2 separate regions of the Homo sapiens genome follow, and region 1 is linked to region 2. Evidence: promoter capture Hi-C in human tissues and cell types (Jung and others, 2019). All regions are on one chromosome and are shown on one strand. Each heading gives the region's core, a stretch centred on a gene start or on the middle of the fragment in contact. The rest is flanking DNA. Distances are from core to core; before and after follow the strand shown. Region 1 holds the start of CORO1A (coronin 1A). Region 2 holds the start of DCTPP1 (dCTP pyrophosphatase 1).

Evidence for each region. Contacts are between HindIII fragments. The study calls those that stand out against the background at their distance.
Region 1: a contact is called between the fragment with the promoter of CORO1A here and the fragment with the promoter of DCTPP1 in region 2, in 1 of the 25 tissues and cell types used here (heart left ventricle).

Annotation. Positions count from the first base shown.
Region 1 is chr16:30,182,062-30,185,255 of GRCh38, reverse strand. It overlaps CORO1A (coronin 1A), which reads right to left and starts at 1,654. Exons shown (of 11, transcript NM_007074.4): 1 at 1,531-1,654; 2 at 1-47. The coding sequence starts at 46. CORO1A-AS1 (CORO1A antisense RNA 1) reads left to right here and starts at 468. Exons shown (of 2, transcript NR_186359.1): 1 at 468-752; 2 at 1,485-1,863. RefSeq lists enhancers at 1-290, 291-832, 833-1,373, 2,792-2,901 and silencers at 1,222-1,331, 1,362-1,821, 1,962-2,071. The HindIII fragment of the contact is 26,104 bases long and covers 1-3,194 here.
Region 2 is chr16:30,428,529-30,431,628 of GRCh38, reverse strand. It overlaps DCTPP1 (dCTP pyrophosphatase 1), which reads left to right and starts at 1,599. Exons shown (of 3, transcript NM_024096.2): 1 at 1,599-1,749; 2 at 2,462-2,572. The coding sequence starts at 1,649. RefSeq lists enhancers at 1,152-1,261, 1,662-1,741, 2,495-2,995, 2,996-3,100. The HindIII fragment of the contact is 14,232 bases long and covers 1-3,100 here.

The sequences.
Region 1 (3,194 bases), core at 405-2,904, 250 kb after region 2:
CAAACACGTGGCGGAACTTGCTGGAGCGGACCACCTGCCGGCTCATTCTGGGGGCACACAGCATAAGAGCATTTCTCCCTTCAGGTCAACTCTGATCTTCCAGTGGTCCCCACCTCCCCCAGGACACCCCTCAGTCTGGCTTTTAAGGTCCCAGCATCATCTCCAGGGGCTCCCTATTCTTCCCTCTGTGGCTGATGCCTGCTTGCCTTCCCCAGCCTCTCCTTCCCTCTAACCTGCAAGCCCCCTTCTCCCTGGCCCCAGGCCACTCTGAGCCACCCTCTCAATCTGTACCCTCAGCCTCTGCAACAGAGCCTGGCGTGGTGTTGCCCCACTGCATGTTTGTTGACTGACTGGCTGATGGATGCAGAGCCCGTCCTTCCTAATGGTTCAGACTCAGGCGTCATCAGCCCAGATGGCTCCGAGGGTGGGTTCTCTCTTAGTTACCGTGTCCAGAGCCCACCTCCCTCACACCCACACAGCGCTTCCTAAAGGCAGGGACAGGAGCTGGCCTCCCTCGCCTGCTGGCATGGGGCTGGACACAGGAGGAAGTGGCGTGGGGGCTGCCTGAGGGGAGTGAGGCGGCAGGATAGCTTCCCCAGCAGGTCTCTGGCTCAGGTCCAGGTATCTCCTCCTCCCCATACCTCTGCCTCTCGCCTCCGCTCAGAAAAGCAGGTGCCCTTAAGAGCCATCTCCACCCCCATGTAAACTGCACACAGGAAGGGAGAGGCCACTCCGACTGCTCTGAGGTCCAGGTAGGATGGTTTCCCCCAGTGTCTGGGTGGGGAGCAAGGAACTCCAGGGGCGACCTTGTGCCACCGCATCACCTTCCTGCTCAGGGAAGGGGCCTGTGCTGCCGCTTGGAGGGTGCCATGCCCAGAGCCTCTGCCCCTAGCCTCAGCCTCGCCTACTCACTGGGGGCTCCAGCACCCCCGGCCACCCCAGGACTCCCGAAGAGGCTGCTAGGTCGGCCTGCCCAAAGAGCGGTGAGGAGCGTATGTGAAGAGCCCCAGTCTTGAGGAGCAGCCTGTATCTGGAGAGAGGGGAGCCCCGGACCAGAGGTGGGGGACAGGAAGCCATCGCCCCACCCTGCCTCCTCCCCCACCACAGGTACCAGGCCCGGAAACCACGGAAAGGGGAACTTGGTCTTTTCTTGTTTTGCTCTCAACCCCTTCCTGTCTCCAAGCCCAGGGCAGCTGCCCCGCTCACCCCACCCTGCCCTCGTCCCCACCCTCCCCGAGACTCAATTCCGTGGGGAGTCGGGCCCTCGACACTGTGCTGACCCCCGGCCACCCACCTCCATCTTGGCCGCGGTGGTCCCTAGCCCTCGCCTCCGCAGAGCGCTCTGGGGCCCCGGCGGCCCCCACTCCAAGCAGCGTCCCCCCACGGGCTGCTGCGCCCGCTACCTGGCCCCGGCGCTGGCTGGGTCGCGGTGACAGCCGCGCGCCCCCGCAGCCCGCGGCTCCCACGCGCGCGCCGCCCCACAGGTGGCCCTCGCCCCGGCCCACCCGCGCCTCCCAGGCCCAGCCTCACCTGCTGCCGAGAGAGGACAGTGATCCCCCAAAAGCCGGAGGTGGAGGAGGAGGAGGAAGAGGAGGAAGGAGCTGGAGGAGCCGGGGACTCGCCCGCTGAAGATGCTCTTGTCAAGACAATGAATGAGAAGCAGCCGTGCGCCCGCCTCCGGGGTGGCCGCGCCCCTTGGGGCGGAGCTCTTCCAGGCCCGCCCTGCGCTCCCGGGCTCCCGCTGCGGCCGCCTCTCTCCCCGGCCCCTGCCCGTGCACCACGTTGGTCCCCAACCATAGCGCAGGCTGCCATCCCGGCTCCGGGAAGCGAATCTAAACTTCTTTTTAAAATGTCAAAACGCAAGAGCACCCCATTGCTTCTTTCCTCCCTGCGTCCGCCCCCAGCCTCCTCGCCAGCCTTTCCCTGGCAGGCACGAAAGCGCCCCAGGCCCGCCCGCCAGGCCTCGGTGCCCGCCCCGGCCCGGCTGCGCCGCCCCTTCCTCCCGGCCCCGCAGACGCGAGCGCAGGGGGCGCGGGGGGCGCGGGGGGCGCGAGGGGCGCGGGGGGCGCGGGCGAGGAGGAGCCCCGAGCGCGCTCCTGGACCCCCGGGACCTGGCTCTTGCCTGGCTCTGAGATCTAAGCATGGGTGGCCCCGGGAGTCGCTTCTCCTCCCTGGATCTCCTGGCTTCATCGGGAACACCCCTGCCCTCCTGCTGAAATAATCCGGCATCACGGGCACCTACTTCGTGCCAGGGGCTACAGGGTCGAGCAAGGCAGGCAAGCCAGGCAGGTTTCCGCCCCTGAAGAGCCCAGCCTGGGGGAAGGAGGAGGAGCCCACGGCCGCTCCAAGCCCTGGCTTTGGCGAAGGCTCGAGGGCAAGGAGGAATAGTTCCCACCCTTGGATTCAGAGAGGCTTCTGGAGGCAGCAACAGCGGGCAGGAAAGGCCTGCTCTAGAGTCAGACTATGTCATGAGTGCGACCGCAGCCTGTCACCTGCTGAGTGAGGTGTGGCCGCTACTTAGCCTTTCTCAGCCTCGGTTTCTCCCTCTGTAACAGTCATACCTGCCACGTAAGAGGTATGGGGATGATTACCTAAAATAACCCAAGGAAGTCAGTAAGGACCTCATCTAGAAAGTGGCGGGTGCTTAATAAACGTTAGCTCTCAGCCATGCGTAGTGACTCACGCCTGTAATCCCAGCACTTTGGGAGGCCAAGGCTGGCGGATCACCTGAGGTCAGGAGTTCGAGACCAGCCTGGCCAACATGGTAAAACCGCATCTCTACTAAAAATACAAAAATTAGCGTGGTGTAGTGATGCACCCCTGTAATCCCAGCTACTGAGGAGGCTAAGGCATGAGAATAGCTTGAACCCTGGAGGCAGAGGCTGCAGTGAGCCAAGATTGAGCCACTGTTATCACCCAGTCTTCTCTGGGTGAAAGAGCAAGACCGTCTCATTTTAAAAAAAGTTAGCTCTCATCATTCTTGTTTAAAAAGTATCTGGGCTGGGCCTGAAAGGATTAGGAAGAGCCAACAGGCAAGGCTAGAGGGGTGACCTGTAGGCTGAGGGACAGCCCTGTCGTGTGGAGAAGTTCAAGGAACAGCAAGGGACGGGTTCAAGTCCCACCTCTGCCACTGACTGGCTGTGCGATCTTGGCCAAGAGGGCTAATCTCTCTGAACCTCATTTTGTCATTGGTA
Region 2 (3,100 bases), core at 350-2,849:
GTGATCCGCCCGCCTCGGCCTCCCAAAGTGCTGGCATTACAGGCGTGAGCCACCGCGCCCGGCCTCAGTTTCCTTATCTTTAAAATGGGGATGACAACAATATTACCTACCATATAGGGTTTTTGTGAGGATTAAATTAGTTGCTATGAGGATTAAATATGTAAAATGCTTAAAACAGCCACCCCAGTTCCAGTTCATTCCTGAGGTCCCACTGTATTCTGGAGACACTCTTGTATCCTTACAATAAATTCCTTGTGGCCGGTGGGGGTGGCTCGTGCCTGTAATCCCAGCACTTCGGGAGGCCAAGGCAGGAGGATTGCTAGAGCCCAATCCAGCAATCCTGGTTCAAGACCAGCTTAGGCAACATGGTGAAACCCTGTCTCTATAAAAAATTTAAAAAATAAAAATAATAGATTTCTTTTTCTTGCTAAAAGCAGTTTAAACTTGTTTCTGTTGCATGTATCCAATCTTAACTGCTGGATAATATCATTTGTATAAATATACTTCCATGTAGCCATTCTTCCGTTGATAGTCATTTTATTTTCAATTTTTTTCACTCTTAGAAACAAAACTGTAATGAACTTCTTGCATGTGTCTCTCTGCACATATTCATTAATTTCTCTAGGGCATATACCTAGAATTGCAATTGTCACAGCCTTGGGATTTTAATTTCCAAAATCTGACTCTGCCTCTTCCTGCGCTTTCTTACGCTTTCACTTCCAGCAAGCTGGAAGCCTCTTTAAACGTGGAAATCAGAGATAGTAGCCCTAATAAGGGTACAATAATAAATCATTCTTTGCAAGACTACACCTGTTCTAGGGTTTCATAAAGATCTCTGCTCCTCCCATGGCCAATAACTCAGTGGTTCTGATTTGAAAGCAGCAACCCTGTGACTCGCCACCTCGCGTATTCCCTGGTGTGAGTGGAGCCTGGAGTTCTCGTGTGTGGGGTGGAGGAGCCGTGCTGGGGACCCATGAGGCTGGAGAGGCCGGCACAGGCCAGACCATAAGGGGCCACGTGTTTCAGGGCAATGTACGTTGCGCTGGGGCCTACTGCCTCCCTTAGGACAGGGATGGGGCGACCTCCATCGTTTCAACCACAGGACACAGCGATGGCGGGGAGCTGAAGTCCTACTGCCGTCTGATCTTACTCCGCTCTTCCCCTTCAATCCCATCCAAATAGTGTGGGGGTTGGCCTCGAGGTTTCTCAACGTCCTTAAGCCCTGATTTAATACCTATGCATAGGGCCTTTCATTTATAGGGTTTTCCACCTGACGGGCCCTCTTCCGCTGCCGTTTCGCTTTGGCGCCCTCTGGCGCCCATAAACGAAGTGACGCGCCTGCGCTTCCCCCACCCTCTGCCCTTCGTCTCTTCCCCAGGTCGAATTGGTACCTCTACCTTTAGACACAGGGCCTAGCGGAAGAATTCCAGGGCCTAAGACTAGAAACGCGCGCTTGAAGCTCCCTCAGATTGGTCCAGTGAGGGAAGGGGAGGGCTGTAGCAAACTCCACAAAAGTCATTGGTCTCTTTCCTCAGGCTCCGCCCCGTGAGGCAATAGAGAACTCCCGTAATTGGTCGGAGCTCTGGAGGCGGGGCTTCGAGCGTGGCTCGTGGGTTTTCCGTGAAGTCGCGGTGCAGCGGTGGGCGGCATGTCTGTGGCCGGTGGGGAGATTCGTGGGGACACGGGGGGAGAGGACACTGCTGCTCCCGGCCGGTTCAGCTTCAGCCCGGAGCCCACGCTCGAGGACATGTAAGCAGGCCTGGCCCAGCTCGGGGTGGGGAAGTCGCCCCTTTCTCCCGCGTTTTGGGGAGGGTTCCTCCACGTGGTCGGGAAGCGGGCTGGCAGCGGGGCTCGGGTCCTGGCTCTGTGGGCTGTCCCTGGGTGAGCCTTCTTACCTCATCTGCAAAATGGGCGCAGCGGTGCACACCTGAGGCAAGGGAAATTGGGTGGTGCCTCCGAGTGGTAACTAGGAACGCCCTTCAGCCTAGCCCTGGGAAGATACCGGCACCAGATACCGCCTCTGCTCTCCAGGCGCCGGGGGTACGAGAGGGGCAAACGAAGTGCTGAGAGGTGGGAGACGTTATTTTTTGCTGGAGGAGGTCAAGAAAGGCTTCTTAGAGGAAGGGTCTGTGGAACTACCTTCTGTAAGAGAAATTGCATTTTGATGTGCGGCGATTCCAGGTGGAGGAAACTGCAGAAGTAGCAGCAGGAGATGGAATAATGAAGAGGGTTTTGTTAGTTTTGGCGAGATGTTAAGGGCAGTTCAGGGGCACGCCCATTTTATAGATGAGGGAACCAAGTTCCGGAAAGAGGAAATGACCTGCACAATACCATCCAATGAATTAGTTGCAGAATCTCCTGGTCCCAGGCCCCATTACATACTACGGGGGTAGCTGCCTCTGGCCCCTGCATCACCCTCTAACCCGGAGACTTGGACTTACACTCCTTTGTCCTATTTCAGCCGCCGCCTCCATGCTGAGTTTGCTGCGGAACGAGACTGGGAACAGTTCCATCAGCCTCGGAATCTCCTCCTGGCCTTGGTTGGGGAAGTGGGGGAGCTGGCAGAACTCTTGTGAGTAGATGGAAAGCTTCCTGGTAGAGTCTGAGTTGTGGGGGAGGGGAGGGGAGCATTTATTTGGTCTTCAAACATTCATGGGTTCAGTTTCCCCTCCTGATTGCTAGGCTCTTTGCTGTTGTTGGGATGCAGAGAGGACTCACGGGTCCCTGCCCTCTAGGGGCACTCAGCCTCCTGGAAGAGAGAGGTGTGAGGTGTGAAAGCATCAGGACAGGTCCCGTCTAGGAAGAAGCAGTGGCAACAACCCTTTTCCCTTCTTTTGTTTTTTGTTTTTTTGGCTTTTTTTTGAGACGGGGTCTCGCTCTGTCGCCCAGGCTGGAGTGCAGTGGCTCAATTTCGGCTCACTGCAACATCCGCCTCCTGGGTTTAAGCAGTTCTGTCTCAGCCCCCCGAGTAGCTGGGACTACAGGTGCCCCCCACCACGCCTGGCTAATTTTTGTATTTTTAGTGGAGACGGGGTTTCACCATATTGGTCAGGCTAGTCTCAAATTCCTGACCTCAGGTGATCCACCCGCCTTGGCCTCC